Regions from separate parts of the Homo sapiens genome. Here all the other regions are linked to region 4. The links are contacts of gene promoters, found by promoter capture Hi-C in human tissues and cell types (Jung and others, 2019). All regions are on one chromosome and are shown on one strand. Each heading gives the region's core, a stretch centred on a gene start or on the middle of the fragment in contact. The rest is flanking DNA. Distances are from core to core; before and after follow the strand shown. Region 1 overlaps PITPNB (phosphatidylinositol transfer protein beta). Region 2 overlaps SF3A1 (splicing factor 3a subunit 1). Region 3 overlaps PITPNB (phosphatidylinositol transfer protein beta). Region 4 holds the start of RHBDD3 (rhomboid domain containing 3).

Evidence for each region. The method cuts DNA at HindIII sites, captures the fragments that hold promoters and counts their contacts. A contact is called where the count stands out against the background at its distance.
Region 1: a fragment that was not itself captured here is called in contact with the fragment with the promoter of RHBDD3 in region 4 in 1 of the 25 tissues and cell types used here (spleen).
Region 2: a fragment that was not itself captured here is called in contact with the fragment with the promoter of RHBDD3 in region 4 in 1 of the 25 tissues and cell types used here (spleen).
Region 3: a contact is called between a fragment that was not itself captured here and the fragment with the promoter of RHBDD3 in region 4, in 1 of the 25 tissues and cell types used here (dorsolateral prefrontal cortex).

Annotation. Positions count from the first base shown.
Region 1 is chr22:27,896,186-27,899,196 of GRCh38, forward strand. It overlaps PITPNB (phosphatidylinositol transfer protein beta), which reads right to left. Exons shown (of 12, transcript NM_012399.5): 4 at 1,616-1,707; 5 at 945-952; 6 at 367-441. Among named protein-coding and RNA genes, the nearest start is that of PITPNB, 22 kb to the right of the region's middle. The HindIII fragment of the contact is 4,356 bases long and covers 1-3,011 here.
Region 2 is chr22:30,333,762-30,336,898 of GRCh38, forward strand. It overlaps SF3A1 (splicing factor 3a subunit 1), which reads right to left. Exons shown (of 16, transcript NM_005877.6): 14 at 1,891-1,992; 15 at 1,706-1,777; 16 at 1-934. The coding sequence ends at 833. Among named protein-coding and RNA genes, the nearest start is that of TBC1D10A, 8.4 kb to the left of the region's middle. The HindIII fragment of the contact is 5,203 bases long and covers 1-3,137 here.
Region 3 is chr22:27,870,283-27,873,276 of GRCh38, forward strand. The region is part of intron 8 of PITPNB (phosphatidylinositol transfer protein beta); the gene reads right to left. Among named protein-coding and RNA genes, the nearest start is that of PITPNB, 47 kb to the right of the region's middle. The HindIII fragment of the contact is 6,796 bases long and covers 1-2,994 here.
Region 4 is chr22:29,266,697-29,269,907 of GRCh38, forward strand. It overlaps RHBDD3 (rhomboid domain containing 3), which reads right to left and starts at 1,285. Exons shown (of 7, transcript NM_012265.3): 1 at 1,052-1,285; 2 at 730-881. EWSR1 (EWS RNA binding protein 1) reads left to right here and starts at 1,572. Exons shown (of 17, transcript NM_005243.4): 1 at 1,572-1,653. The coding sequence starts at 1,641. RefSeq lists enhancers at 1,164-2,035, 1,428-1,487, 1,598-1,657, 3,120-3,169 and a silencer at 1,828-1,917. The HindIII fragment of the contact is 23,296 bases long and covers 1-3,211 here.

The sequences.
Region 1 (3,011 bases), core at 211-2,710, 1.4 Mb before region 4:
AGCAATCAATCCTGCTATGCAGAGCAGCTCTGACAAACACTCAGATATAAAAGCAATCTAATTAGCAAAACTAATGGCTAAAATTGGGCTGGGGATTATCTGTGAATTTTGTTTATTCATGCTCTCCTTGTCTCGGATAAAGAGAGTTGCTGATCAAAACAGCAACTTTACCAAAGTGTCAAGGCAAGCGGACTGATAGGGAAAGCCTATTTGGTTTCTGGCTGCTTGCCCGCCTCATCTCAATTTGACACAGCTTGGTGCGGTCAGATACACAGGTGACATTACTTTGATGATGACAAAGTGAACTACATATAGAATTCTCGTTTCCAGGGACTTTTGTACTAAAAGTGCAGAGTTGAAACTTACATTTTCTAATGTTCCCAAGTCTGGTTTGTGCCATGTTTCGATTTTAATGAAGAAATCATCTTTCATATATTCATTCTGCAGAAAACACAACAGGAAAATGACAGTGATCTTCTACCTGTTCCTTGGTGCCCACGTCTGAGGGAGCTTTTCCCAGTATAGGCATCCATGCTTTGACTCTACAAGGAGACTGATACTCAAGTGACAAAGAATCATTGGCTACCGATTTTTATAGACTTGTCAGGCAAACCAAATGCTACATGCTTTTAAATAATTTAAACAATTCTACTTGCCACGTGGCATATCGGGCTAATAAAGAAGCTGTGAGGTCTGATAAACAAATATGGCGTTTGAAGGGAGTAACAAAAGCAAAATAAAATCAATAGGGAGATTTTGAGACAAGGGTGGAAAGGGCCCATGAACACTGGGAACATGTGGTAGAGTGTGGCGGCTGGTTGGTGGGACACAGGAAGGAACCATGCAGCGAGGTGCAGTTAGCAAAGAATGGTTGAAAATAATTACTGTGTAAAACAAAGTTTAAAGATAAAGAAAGTATGAGACACAAAAATAGTTTTACTCACCGTTACAACTGAGGCATAATGGAGAGGTAGGTAATGAAAGGAGAAAAATTTCAGAATATTAATTGGAGTCAAAACAATCTGTCCCAATACTTAATGTCACAAAGACTAAACTATCTGAAAACAGAACATTTATTTAGTAATTTATGTCTGCAAAACAGTTTCCACACAAGTGACACTATACAGTACATTAGATTATGGAGTACAAATAAAATATGAACAATAATCTAATTTTAAAAATAATGCTAAAAAGAATAATAATGTCACAAAAGCAAAACATTATTTATAAGGTCAATTTAGCAAATGATAGGATGCTGTTTCAGAAGTCTGTCCTATTCCTCCTCTATTATGTAGCAATTTAAGTAAAATACTGTTGAAACACACCAAAACACCCTTCTGAGTGTAAACGACCTTTCTTTTGGCTTACCCCTGGAGCCAGCATAGTCAGCTAGGACCCCAAAGTGGCTGCCATGTGGGAATGAACTTATGCCTGTCACAAAGTTCTAGGGGGAGGAACCCAATGCAGCCCTTCCTCTGCCATCATTCTAGCAGTGACTATCCAAGAACCCAAGGAAGACCTTGCTCAGTGTAAACCTTCTCAAAGACACTGGTACTGGGAATCCCTCTCATTCTCAGGGTGGAGGGGTGCAATGGCTGCTGGGGGCCAAGCTTACTTGTTCTACAGTAGGGGTACGCATTCCAGGCTTTCTCATGAAACACCAAGGAGCCCTCGGGAGCAATCATCCTCACGAATGCAGGCACTTTGCTGGGAGAAGAGAGATACTGGATATATTTAACAGCACCATCAATTCTTTCTTGGTATCTATCCAACTGCTTGAAAGAGTATGGCAATCAAAGGTGACCAGGTTCTAAGTCTGATGAACTAGTTTATTTCAATCCTAAAGTAATCCAGTAGAAATGAACACATAATTTTTTACATTTTAAATAAAAATGATTAAGAATATTTAGCTGGGTATGGTGGCTCATGCCTGTAATCCTAGCATTTTGAGAGGCTGAGGCAGGAGGATCACTTGAGCCCAGGAGTTTGAGACTAGCCTGGACAACATGGTGAAACCCTGTCTCTACAAAAAATATAAAACTAGCCAGGCATGGTGGCACATGCCTGTAGCCCCAACTATTCAGGAGGCTCAGGTGGGAGGATCACTTGAACCTGGGAGATAGAGGTTGCAGCAAGCTGAGATCACACCACTGCACTCTAGCCTGGGCAAAAGAGCAAGACCTTGTCTCACAAGGAAAAAAAAAATTAACTGTATAAAAGGTTTTGTGTGTGTGTGTGTGGTTTTTTTTTTTTTAAATAGAAGCAATTATTTCTTAAGAACTTCTGATCTACTACCCCAATGTAAAACCTAAGAGTTAACAGCTATTCAATCTGCACATTAATACAATGTAGTTCTTAAGAGTTAGATGACATTATACTGTTTCTTAATGCAAAAAGCCCCAGAATAAGGAGATATCTCTGAATAAAAGTCTGAATACATTTTATAGAACAGACCTGAAGAAAAATGACAATGTAAAGGACCCATGCAGAAAATGAGAAATTAAAGCATATCCAAGTATAAAATTTTGTAGGTATGGGAGATGAATGTCACTTGCTGCCTTAAGTATATTCAGAGGAAGAGAAAGGTTCAATACATGATTAATATATGAGAAGCTTGTGCAAGCATATGATAATCAGAAACAATCCCAACATATAAAGGGGCAAAAGTCATCCACAGGCCCATTACAAATAGAAAATGTTATTTGTTAACAAACAAATGGGAAAATCAGTCTTAACAGTCTTCAAATAAATGCAAATGAAGTGACTGATATAGTGACTGGAGCCTACTGTAAAGAGTAGTTTTGCTTGCACAGACTTTTCACACAGATCGAATTCAAATCCCAACATCACCATTTGGAAGCTGTGTGACCTTAGGCCTGCTACTTGGCTTCTCTGAAATTCCTCATGTGTTGAATGGAATTCCTATTACCTGCTCTGCAGGGTTATTAAGAGAATTAAATCAAATACTGGAATGTGTTTAGCACATTGCACAGTACAATGAGCTCAAAAAA
Region 2 (3,137 bases), core at 233-2,732, 1.1 Mb after region 4:
TACAATTAAGTATTTGTTAAATACATACATTTTAAAGAAACGTCATCATATCCACACACCTATGAGGCACCTGCCCAGGACCACAGAGCCAATCAATCAGGTGATGAGTGATTCCAGGCCAGCAGGAAACCACCGCCCACTGACACAGGGACTGCACCATCCATCCTTGGTTTGCATGGTGCCTGCCATGCTTCCTGTATTACTGTTAAATACATGGGGCAGGCCTTTGGAGGATCCCAATGTTTTAAAAGGGCAATACGAATATGATTCTAATACATAAAAAGTATGAGGGCAGCAAGAATTTAGTTACAAAACCCAAAAATCCTCAAAGAGAAGCCACATAGCACTGTGCAGTGTTACCACTGCCTCGAGTCTGGACAGGGCACAGGTGACCGAGACAAGTCTTATTTAACTGATTTCACAAGAAGGGTCCGAGTTTTATTAGACAACCCATGTCAAGGTACAAAATGATTAATGACAATATCAGCCATATTCTATTAGCCAAGTGCCACCTGTCACTATGAAACTATCCTGTAGGACATCCCTGGGCTCTCAGTTGCTAATGGGCTGCTGAAGAAATGAATGTCCTCAAATCGAGACCCTAACACAAAGAGATTCCAGAGAGTGGCTTAGAAAACCCAGCTACTCTTACCAATGTGGGGAAAGGGTCAGGGGAATGAACCTCTGCAGGACAATTTGAATTCCCAAACTGAGTAAGAGCGAAACAAATATGCAGGCAAGGCAAAGCCTCAGGGGGGCTCCTGGGTCTGGGGCAGGGGGTGGGAGACAGGAGAGGCAAAATGGCAGGGACTTGACAGCAGGTTCCTCTTGTCTACTTCTTCCTCCCGCCTCTCTCCTTGAGGGCCAGGTGGATGACTGCGCCATTGGCCATGTTGTAGTAAGCCAGTGAGTTGGAATCTTTGATGAAGATACCCTGGAAAACAGACAGCGTGCCTTAGCATGGGGCAACCCAGCCTTGGGGATACCGCTGCAACCTTACAACTGTGCACTTGGTCTGTTTGCGCTCTGGACTTAGCAAATACAGGAGCTTGTGAGAAGGTAGGGTGTTGGGGACTGGAGGCCTCTCATTCCTCCCACTGTTTCCTTTCTTCCCACCAATTACGCTCCTCCCCTTTGTCAACATTTGACTCAAAAGCTCAACTCCCCAAAAAGTTGGCCCCTCACCAACTCCATGGAGCTCTGACTCTGAAATCACAAGACCTTTAGGGATCACTTAGCCCAACAGCCTCAATGGATAGAGATAACTGAGGCCCAGAGCAGGGATTTGTTCAAGTTCAGAGAAGAAGAACATTAATGCCTCCATGTGACCTGGCATCAGGCGGGGCTAGACTATCACCTCCAAGTCAGGCTGCCTGAGGTCATACTGGCAGGGATGGCCCAACCACTGGATCAGGAACCCACCAGAGCATGCCTAAGTCTTGTCACTAAATCTCTATGCCCAGTCATTGAGGCAAAGAATCTTACAGATCCCACACAAGACTCTACTGTGACCCCACCAGAGCCTTGCATTGTTGGGCACACCTGCCCCAACACTCCCAGCCAGCATCATGACTTCTAGGATGGATTCAGATGGCCACACCCAGATATCACTCCACTCCCCTTTTAGCTTCCATGACAGATTTAGCTTCTGTGAAAGCAGAGGTGTCAGGACCCAAGGGACAGGTCTGTGGACAAACTGACTCACCTCATACTGTAGCTTCTGTTTCCCTGCAGGCATGCCTGTGGCTTCATGAATCTTCACCTTAATGACAGAGACCTGTGGGATCAAGCAGCGGTCATTCAACTCCTTGGTAAGGCCAGCTAGAGGAAGCTTTCCCCTGAATGCTTGGTTCCCATGCACCTGATGCCAGTTTCTGGCAGTACCCATACCTGGTCCGTGAGTGGGAGGGTGAAGACCAGCACCTGCCCATTCAGTTTCCATTCCGTCTTATCCTGCATGTTGGGCACCTGGACTTTGATGGACACTGGACCCTACAAAACAGGAGGTGGTCATTATGCCTAGGGAGCTCGGAGCCAATCAAGAACTATGCTCTGCTATCCCTAGGCCTGTCCAGACAATGTCACCTGTGCATCTGGGCTCCTGGATTCTGGCCTGATTCACCACTGATAACCCCTTGTGAGGTTGTACAAGTCACCCCCCTTTGCAAGATTAGGTTTCTTTTCTTTAAAACAATCTCTATCTTGTCTCTTGGTGAGTCTGGAGCTAAACTGAAGAACTTTAGTGAAAATACTCTGCACACCCCAAGGGAAAAGAATATGACCTGCAGGGTCGGAAGACCTGGATTCCCAACTCAGCTTCCCAGCTAACAAGGTTTGTCTGAGCCTCAATGTCATTATCCACCAGACAGGGTTCATGACTGTTTTGAGTATTGAGGGGAAGTGTCTGTAAAGTGCTTAGCTCTATCCTGGTACTTAAGCGTTTAAGAAATGGGAACTATTATTAAAAAACAAACAGAGCGGGTGCAGTGGCTCACACCTGTAATCCCAGCACTTTGGGAGGCCAGCGTGGTGGATCACTTACGGCCAGGAGTTCAAGACAAGCCTGGCCAACGTGGCGAAACCCCATCTCTACTAAAATACTAAAAATACAAAAATTAGCTGGGTGTGTGGTGCACACCTGTAATCCCAGCTACTCCGGAGGTTGAGGCATAACAATCACTTGAACCCGGGAGGCAGAGGTTGCAAAAACAAAACGAAACAATTTGGTCAAATACATTGGGGGAGCAGAGGCCGGGGCTGTTTCTGTCTCCTTACTGCAGCCTGACAGCTTCCCTAGTGATTAGCAGTGACAAGGTCCCCACCTCCCCTTATTCCAGGACCCCAACAGGATCCCACCCAACAGGCAGACCTCCTAAGGGCTAGAGCTGGGGAGGAAGGCCACAGTAAATTTTAAAACACCACACACAATTTCCTCCAGGTGTCTAGGGTCCCTCTCACACGTGAGTTGTGCTGCCCGTGCTGCTGGGTCTCCCTGTTGGCCTCTGTAAGTCTACACCAGAGGGACCACCACAGTCACCACCTCTGCCACCACTACCATCACCATCACCACCAATGCTCTCTGCTCCTCCAATTGTTGGCCCCACATTCACTGTGTGCTCAGAAGCCCTTAGATGCCT
Region 3 (2,994 bases), core at 71-2,570, 1.4 Mb before region 4:
TGGTACCAAGGAAAAGTTTCTTTACCCCTAGTCAGTCTGGTGCAGACAGGAAGTAAATACTGCAATAATTCAGAGGGAAAATACCACCATCAGACAAGTAAGGAAAAGTTTCAAAGAAATCATAGGATTTGCATTTAGCTTTGAATAGACTTTGGAATCTGTACTGGTAAGGCAGGTTTCTGCTGAAGGGTATGTGTGGGATGGTTCACAGAGGCCTTTTGAGAGAGAGACTGTGGAACTACCAGGCAGCTCTTCTATAAGAACATTCTTCAACACTACCCTGGTTAAGTGGGTCCACAATAAGATTTCTTCTTCCTTTCAGCCATAATTATCATGTTTGTTCCCTATTTCTTCCTTGCATTTCAGAAGTATAAAAATTTCCAACTATTATCGTTCCCCAGTGCTACCCTCAGTGCCTCCACCAGGACAGTAATTGGCAAAGAGGGCCTGCTGAACATGTTTACAGAAGACACTGGTAAGATCAAGTCCAAAGGTTCCTATTTTCCTGTATGCCATATTATCAGCTATCTTCTTACGCTTTATTTCCCTCCACAGCAGCAAGTGGATGGCTTAATTATTATCAGTTATTCTTGACTGCACTAGTTATTTCTGAGATCACAGTAATTCACAGAAATTCAGTCAGGCAGTAGCTGAATTTATAAGAGTAGCTGGATACACCATCATCTGGATAAAATGAACAATCAACAGGCAAATGGGCAGAAACAACCAGCACCCTATCAGCCTAATAAGTTACTGTTTAACACAGGGGGGAAAATGGAAAAAAACTGCAGTTCTGCAATCTGCAGAAATACAAAATTCACATTATTTCTAAGAACTAAACCTATTCTAGAATTTCAATCATTAGTCAATAATAAAAGACAAAGCAATATCAGTTACAAATCAGGCCAGACATGGTATATATTCCAAGTTCCTAAAAAGTTAGAAATCAGTACAAGTCATAGTATCAAACTACTTTTGCTGCCTGTTATAAAATCAGGAGTTCCTATAGGAAGGATCTGAGCCCAAACATAAAGCCCACCACATAATGTAGCATTGTCTTTTAATGTTTATACTTGAAAAGCTAATAATTTCAAGAAAATACAATATTTAATTCACCTCTGGGTCTCAACCTCATGCCCCTTTACTCCCTGTAAAAGTATTGTCAGCTAGAGCTACTACTCACTGGAACAAGATGTACTTTTTTAGAAGTTACAGCACCAGTGGAGGTAGCCACCATCTGGGCTGCTCTCTGGCATGGTGTCCTTGTTTAGAAGACCAGTGTGAAATCTCAAAGGGCTTCTCCTCCAACTAAGATTGAGTTCTAAAGTCTGAAGCTAGAAATCTGGAAAAGGCTGGGGACACTAAATCCATTAAAGCAAATTTACATCAAGCAGGCTGAATTTGTTAATTTATAAGTGGTATATATCACTTTCTGGGTAATATAGATTGGGAATTTGTCCCTGCTCAAATCTCATGCTGAAATGTAATCCCCAATGTTGAAATGCAATCCCTAATGTTAGAGGTAAAGCCTCTAACAGGTGTTTGCATCATGACTGCAGATCCTTCATGAATAGCTTGGGCCATCCCCTTGGTGATAAGTGAGCTCTCACTCTGAGTTCACACGAGATCTGGCTGTATAAAAGTGCATGGCACACTTCCCCTGCCCCACTTCCACCATGTGAGACGCCTGCTTCTCCTTTGCCTACCATGACTGTAAGCTTTCTGAAGCCTCCCCAAAAGCAGATACCAGCACTATGCTTCCTATACAGTGTGCAGAACCGTGAGCCAATTAAGCCTGGTTTTTTTTTTTTTTTTTTTTTTTTTTTTTTGGGACGGAGTCTCACTCTGTCGCCCAGGTTGGAGTGCAATGGTGCAATCTTAGCTCACTGCAACCTCTACCTCCCGGGTTCAAGTGATTCTCCTGCCTCAGCCTCCTGAGTAGCTGGGATTACACGCAAGCACCATCGTGCCCAGCTAATTTTTGGATTTTTAGTAGAGATGGGGTTTCAACATGTTGCCCAGGCTGGTATTGAACTCCTGACCTCAAGTGATCCACCCACCTCAGCCTCCCAAAGTACTGGGATTACAGGCGTGAGCCACTGCACCTGGCCCAAGCCTCTTTATATATAATACCCATTCTCAGGTTCTTTGTAATAATGCAAGATTGGCCTAACATGCTAAGTATTAAAACTGGGAGAATTCTGAACTAAACTCTACCCAGAGAACAAATGTGAAAATAATATAGTTATGAATCATTTCTTATAAACCAAAGTCAAATTCATTTTTCCTTTTAGTTGATGCACAAGACAGTCCACAAAACAGTCTAACACCCAGGGAGAACCACTCAATGAGTTCTCTGTGGGGCTGTAACAGTAATCCTCTTATCTGCATGCAACTAGTACCTAGACATCACTTATCGATGACCTGTAACTGGCTTCAGCACAGACAGACTGGTTACCAAGTAAGACCCTGGGAGTGGAAAATCTGCTCTGGGCATGTTTAAGTTTTTATGCTCTTCTCTTGTCAAATTAGCTGTAGTAACTTGCCAATAACACATTAAGACTTCTTTAAGGATCTGTCATTTAGTTTAGTAGATGTCTTTAAAATGCATTATATTTCTATAGCAATTTAAATTATTACCTTGACATTACCTTACTTCCATGAATAAAGTAAGGGTGTGCACTTTATTTAAAAACAACTACTGGCTGGGCGCAGTGGCTCATGCCTGTAATCCCAACACTTTGGGAGGCCAGGGCGGGTGGATCACCTGAGGTCGGGAGTTCGAGACCAGCCTGACCAACATGGAGAAACCCCGTCTCCACTAAAAATACAAAATTAGCCAGGCATGGTGGCGCATGCCTGTAATCCCAGTTACCCGGGAGGCTGAGGCAGGACAATCACTTCAACCCAGGAGGCAGAGGCTGCAGTGAGCCCAGATTGCACCACTGCACCCCAGCCTGGGCAACAAGAGTGAAACTCTGTCTCAAAAACAAA
Region 4 (3,211 bases), core at 35-2,534:
CCTGGTCAGGCCTCTCGGTCCCAGGACTCCCACTGAGCTGATTCAGGGCAGGAAGCAGGATCCCAGAGAGACAAGAAGGCTGCCTAATTTGCTCCCCTGCCAAGCGCCTTCTCCACATCTACCAGTTTCCTGCAGGAAAAATGTGGAAAGCTCCTCTGCCTGCATTGTCCTTCCCTCCATTTTGCCAGCAGGCAAACTCCTATTTCACCCTTGGAAGCCCAGCTCAAATATCCCTTCCCCTCCTCTGGCCCCCTAACATCATGGATCTTATCCTTAGGAGCACAGCTTGGCCAGTCTGTCTCCCTAGGCAGGTGGTCTGAGCTCATGGCTCCTCTGATCCAACCCCACATTCCCCAGGGTATTCACAGCACACAGCCAGTGCTTTATATATGTTCACTGAAAAAAGGACACTAGCTTGGCTCCTGGTCCTGCCGAGGGATTTGAAGGTGAACCCTGCCCTTCGCGGACCCGGGCATCCACCTAGGGGGCTGGGGCTAGAGGTCCAGGAAGGTGGGCAGGGTCAGCCTTGCCTGGAGGCAGGGTTTGGGGCCAAGGCACCCACCGTAAACCTCCTCCTGCATCGACACCTCACAACCATTCCCCAGCTCTGGGCACCTTAGCAAGGGTGAAGGGCTTACCCGTGGACACTCGGAACTGGGACTTGAGCCCCCTGGACCTCACTTTCTTCAATCTATGAAACGGGGCAGTGCACCACCAGGCCCTGCCTACCTTACTGGGAAGCCGGGAGGGCAGAATGGAAAGACAAGGACGGAGATTCTTCCGGTGGCGGATAGAGTAGGGGGTCCCAGGATCTGTCTGGTTCGAACTCAGCTGGTGACTTTGCAGAGATACTCAATTTCCTTGGGCCTCAGTTTCCCCTTCTGTAGAAACAAGGATATCGGATGAGGGATGATTAAAGGGCCTGCTCCACCTCGACCGTTACCGGGGATAGGGTCTCGGGGCCAGGCACGGCGTTCGAGGCCTCCCACCCAGCCGACCGGCCTTGGGGACCCTTCCCCGCTGGCCCGGGCCACGCGTCCCGGGTACTCACTGCAGAGCGCGCCCGGCAACCCCGAAAGGCCGGTCGGGGACCCCGGCTGGGAGTCAGGACTCTAGCTCCCGGGCGCGACCCGAGAACCCTGAATCCATTCCGCGCACACCCGGCCGCGTGACCCCTGCCGACCGGCTGGCGCGCCACCCATTCCCCGCGGCCCGCGGATTAGTCAGCAGTTGTTCTAGTCCGGGTCCCTTCCCCCAGCCCTCCCGCCGATCTCCGTCTCCCTGCAGGGCCGACTCTTCAGCGACCGTCCCTAGAGCCAGCGGACGGAACCATTCCAAACAGCCTAGTCTCGTGCTGAGAGCCTCTCCGGTTTCACGCTGAGACCCGCTCACCCCCGCTCTGGCCCCTTAGATGCTATTTTGGCCCGAGTGTCACGTCGGGCGCTCTTTAGAGAGGACTGGGACAAGAGTTGCGGACGCGAAGAACGAGTAAGCGGTGGTTCATCCCTCCTGACCCCACCCCCGTGGCCTGGCCCGATGGTCGCGCCCGGGGTTGCGAGATTTGCGCCTGCGCAGTGCGGCGCCTAGAGGGAAAGCGAGAGGGAGACGGACGTTGAGAGAACGAGGAGGAAGGAGAGAAAATGGCGTCCACGGGTGAGTATGGTGGAACTGCGGTCGCGCCGGCGGTAGCCGGAACGCCCAAACTGGGGGTCGTTCGTCTCTGGGCTTGGCTGGGAAGACTGAGTGGAGTTGCCGAGAGGGGGTTGAGGCACCCGCCGCGGCCCGACGAGCTCGGGGATCCGCATTCCTCTCCCCTCCCCCAACCGGGCGGGCCGGTTCTGGAATCTTCCGGCGCCCGTGGCGCGCGGGGGGCTTGCTGCGGCGGGGGCGCGCGGGGCCCGCCTTGGCCTCCATTGTGTGGCGGTCCTCGCGCCCTGAGCTCCGGGCCTCCCGCCACGTGGGCGGGGCCTGCGGCCTTCGAGGCCCTGCGTGAAGGGGAGGATTTGGCCAGGCCTCAAGCCGGTCACTATGAAACCGCCGGGGGGCCCGCAGGCTGCTGTCCCTGTGAGGCCTCCCTCCCCGTTTTCAGGGTTTCCTGAGAAACCAGGGGAAAAAGCAAATAAAGATACCGTGGATTTGTGGGCCGAGGGGTGCCGGCCTATGAGCGGGAGCCCCGTCATCCTTAAGACCCAGTCGGCTGGGGCGTCTGGCGCTGCCGAGCTGCCCCCTCTGTGGCTTCCAGCCCCAAGCCGAACTTCTGCTCGCCTGGGCTTTAGACAGAATGTGCTTCCCTCCTCCAGGGCCCCCAGTTTGCCGCTTTCTTGGGCTTCTCCATTTTTATCGTTATTAATCCACGTCCTCCCCTCCCCCAAAACCAATTAAGTGGCTTCCCAGGGCCCTTTTTCTGCAAACGCCGAGGGACATCCGTTGTATAATAAGGCCAGCCTGGGTCGAGAGACGAGAAACGCTACCAGAAAGATATTTCTGGTCTCTCTGACCTAGGAGGAACAAAAGGCCGAGCCTTCATTTGAATTATGTTTCAGCAGTGGCCTCGCACGTTTATTCGCCTGCGTTAGGCCGGCAGGCCTGTTGATTTCGTAGGTCGACAGAGGAGAGGGGAAAAAAGGCCAGTAGAAGCAATCTTAAAGGCACTTGCAAGCAAGCCCCGGTTGGGAACTCCAAAATGGGAGTAGAGTGGTCCTTGATGGAAGGAGCGTTTAAGAGTGTCGCCTAGCCATCACCTGCAGTTCGCAATCTGTGGGTACACTAACCCGCGAAAATTGGCAGGGTGGAGCATTTTTGCCCCGGGGGTATTCTCAGGCCACCTGGTTCCAGGCCTTAGAGACAGTGGGAGAAGATGAGAAGGAAGACAGGAAAAGTTCTGGGCACTCCAGAGTTTTTGGAGTCCAGAATCCAGCAACTTAAGGACAGTTTAAGAATTCTCCCCATCTGTGGTCAATAAACAGGTAAGTGTTGGCTGTTCGTGCCGGGATACCAAAGAGTGGATACCAAAGAGTGCCGGTAGAAGAGAGGACTGAAATACCACAGCTAACCTCCCGGTGGGAAGTGGTTTCCTAGGTGCCCTATCCACCCTCTTCTGCTCTGCAAAAGCCTGAAAAGGCAAAACGTGTGCGTTGACATTTTTGCGTGGCTGGACGTGCCTTTTTTCAGTCAACTTTGTTCAAACCTTGTTCACCAGTAACTACCATGT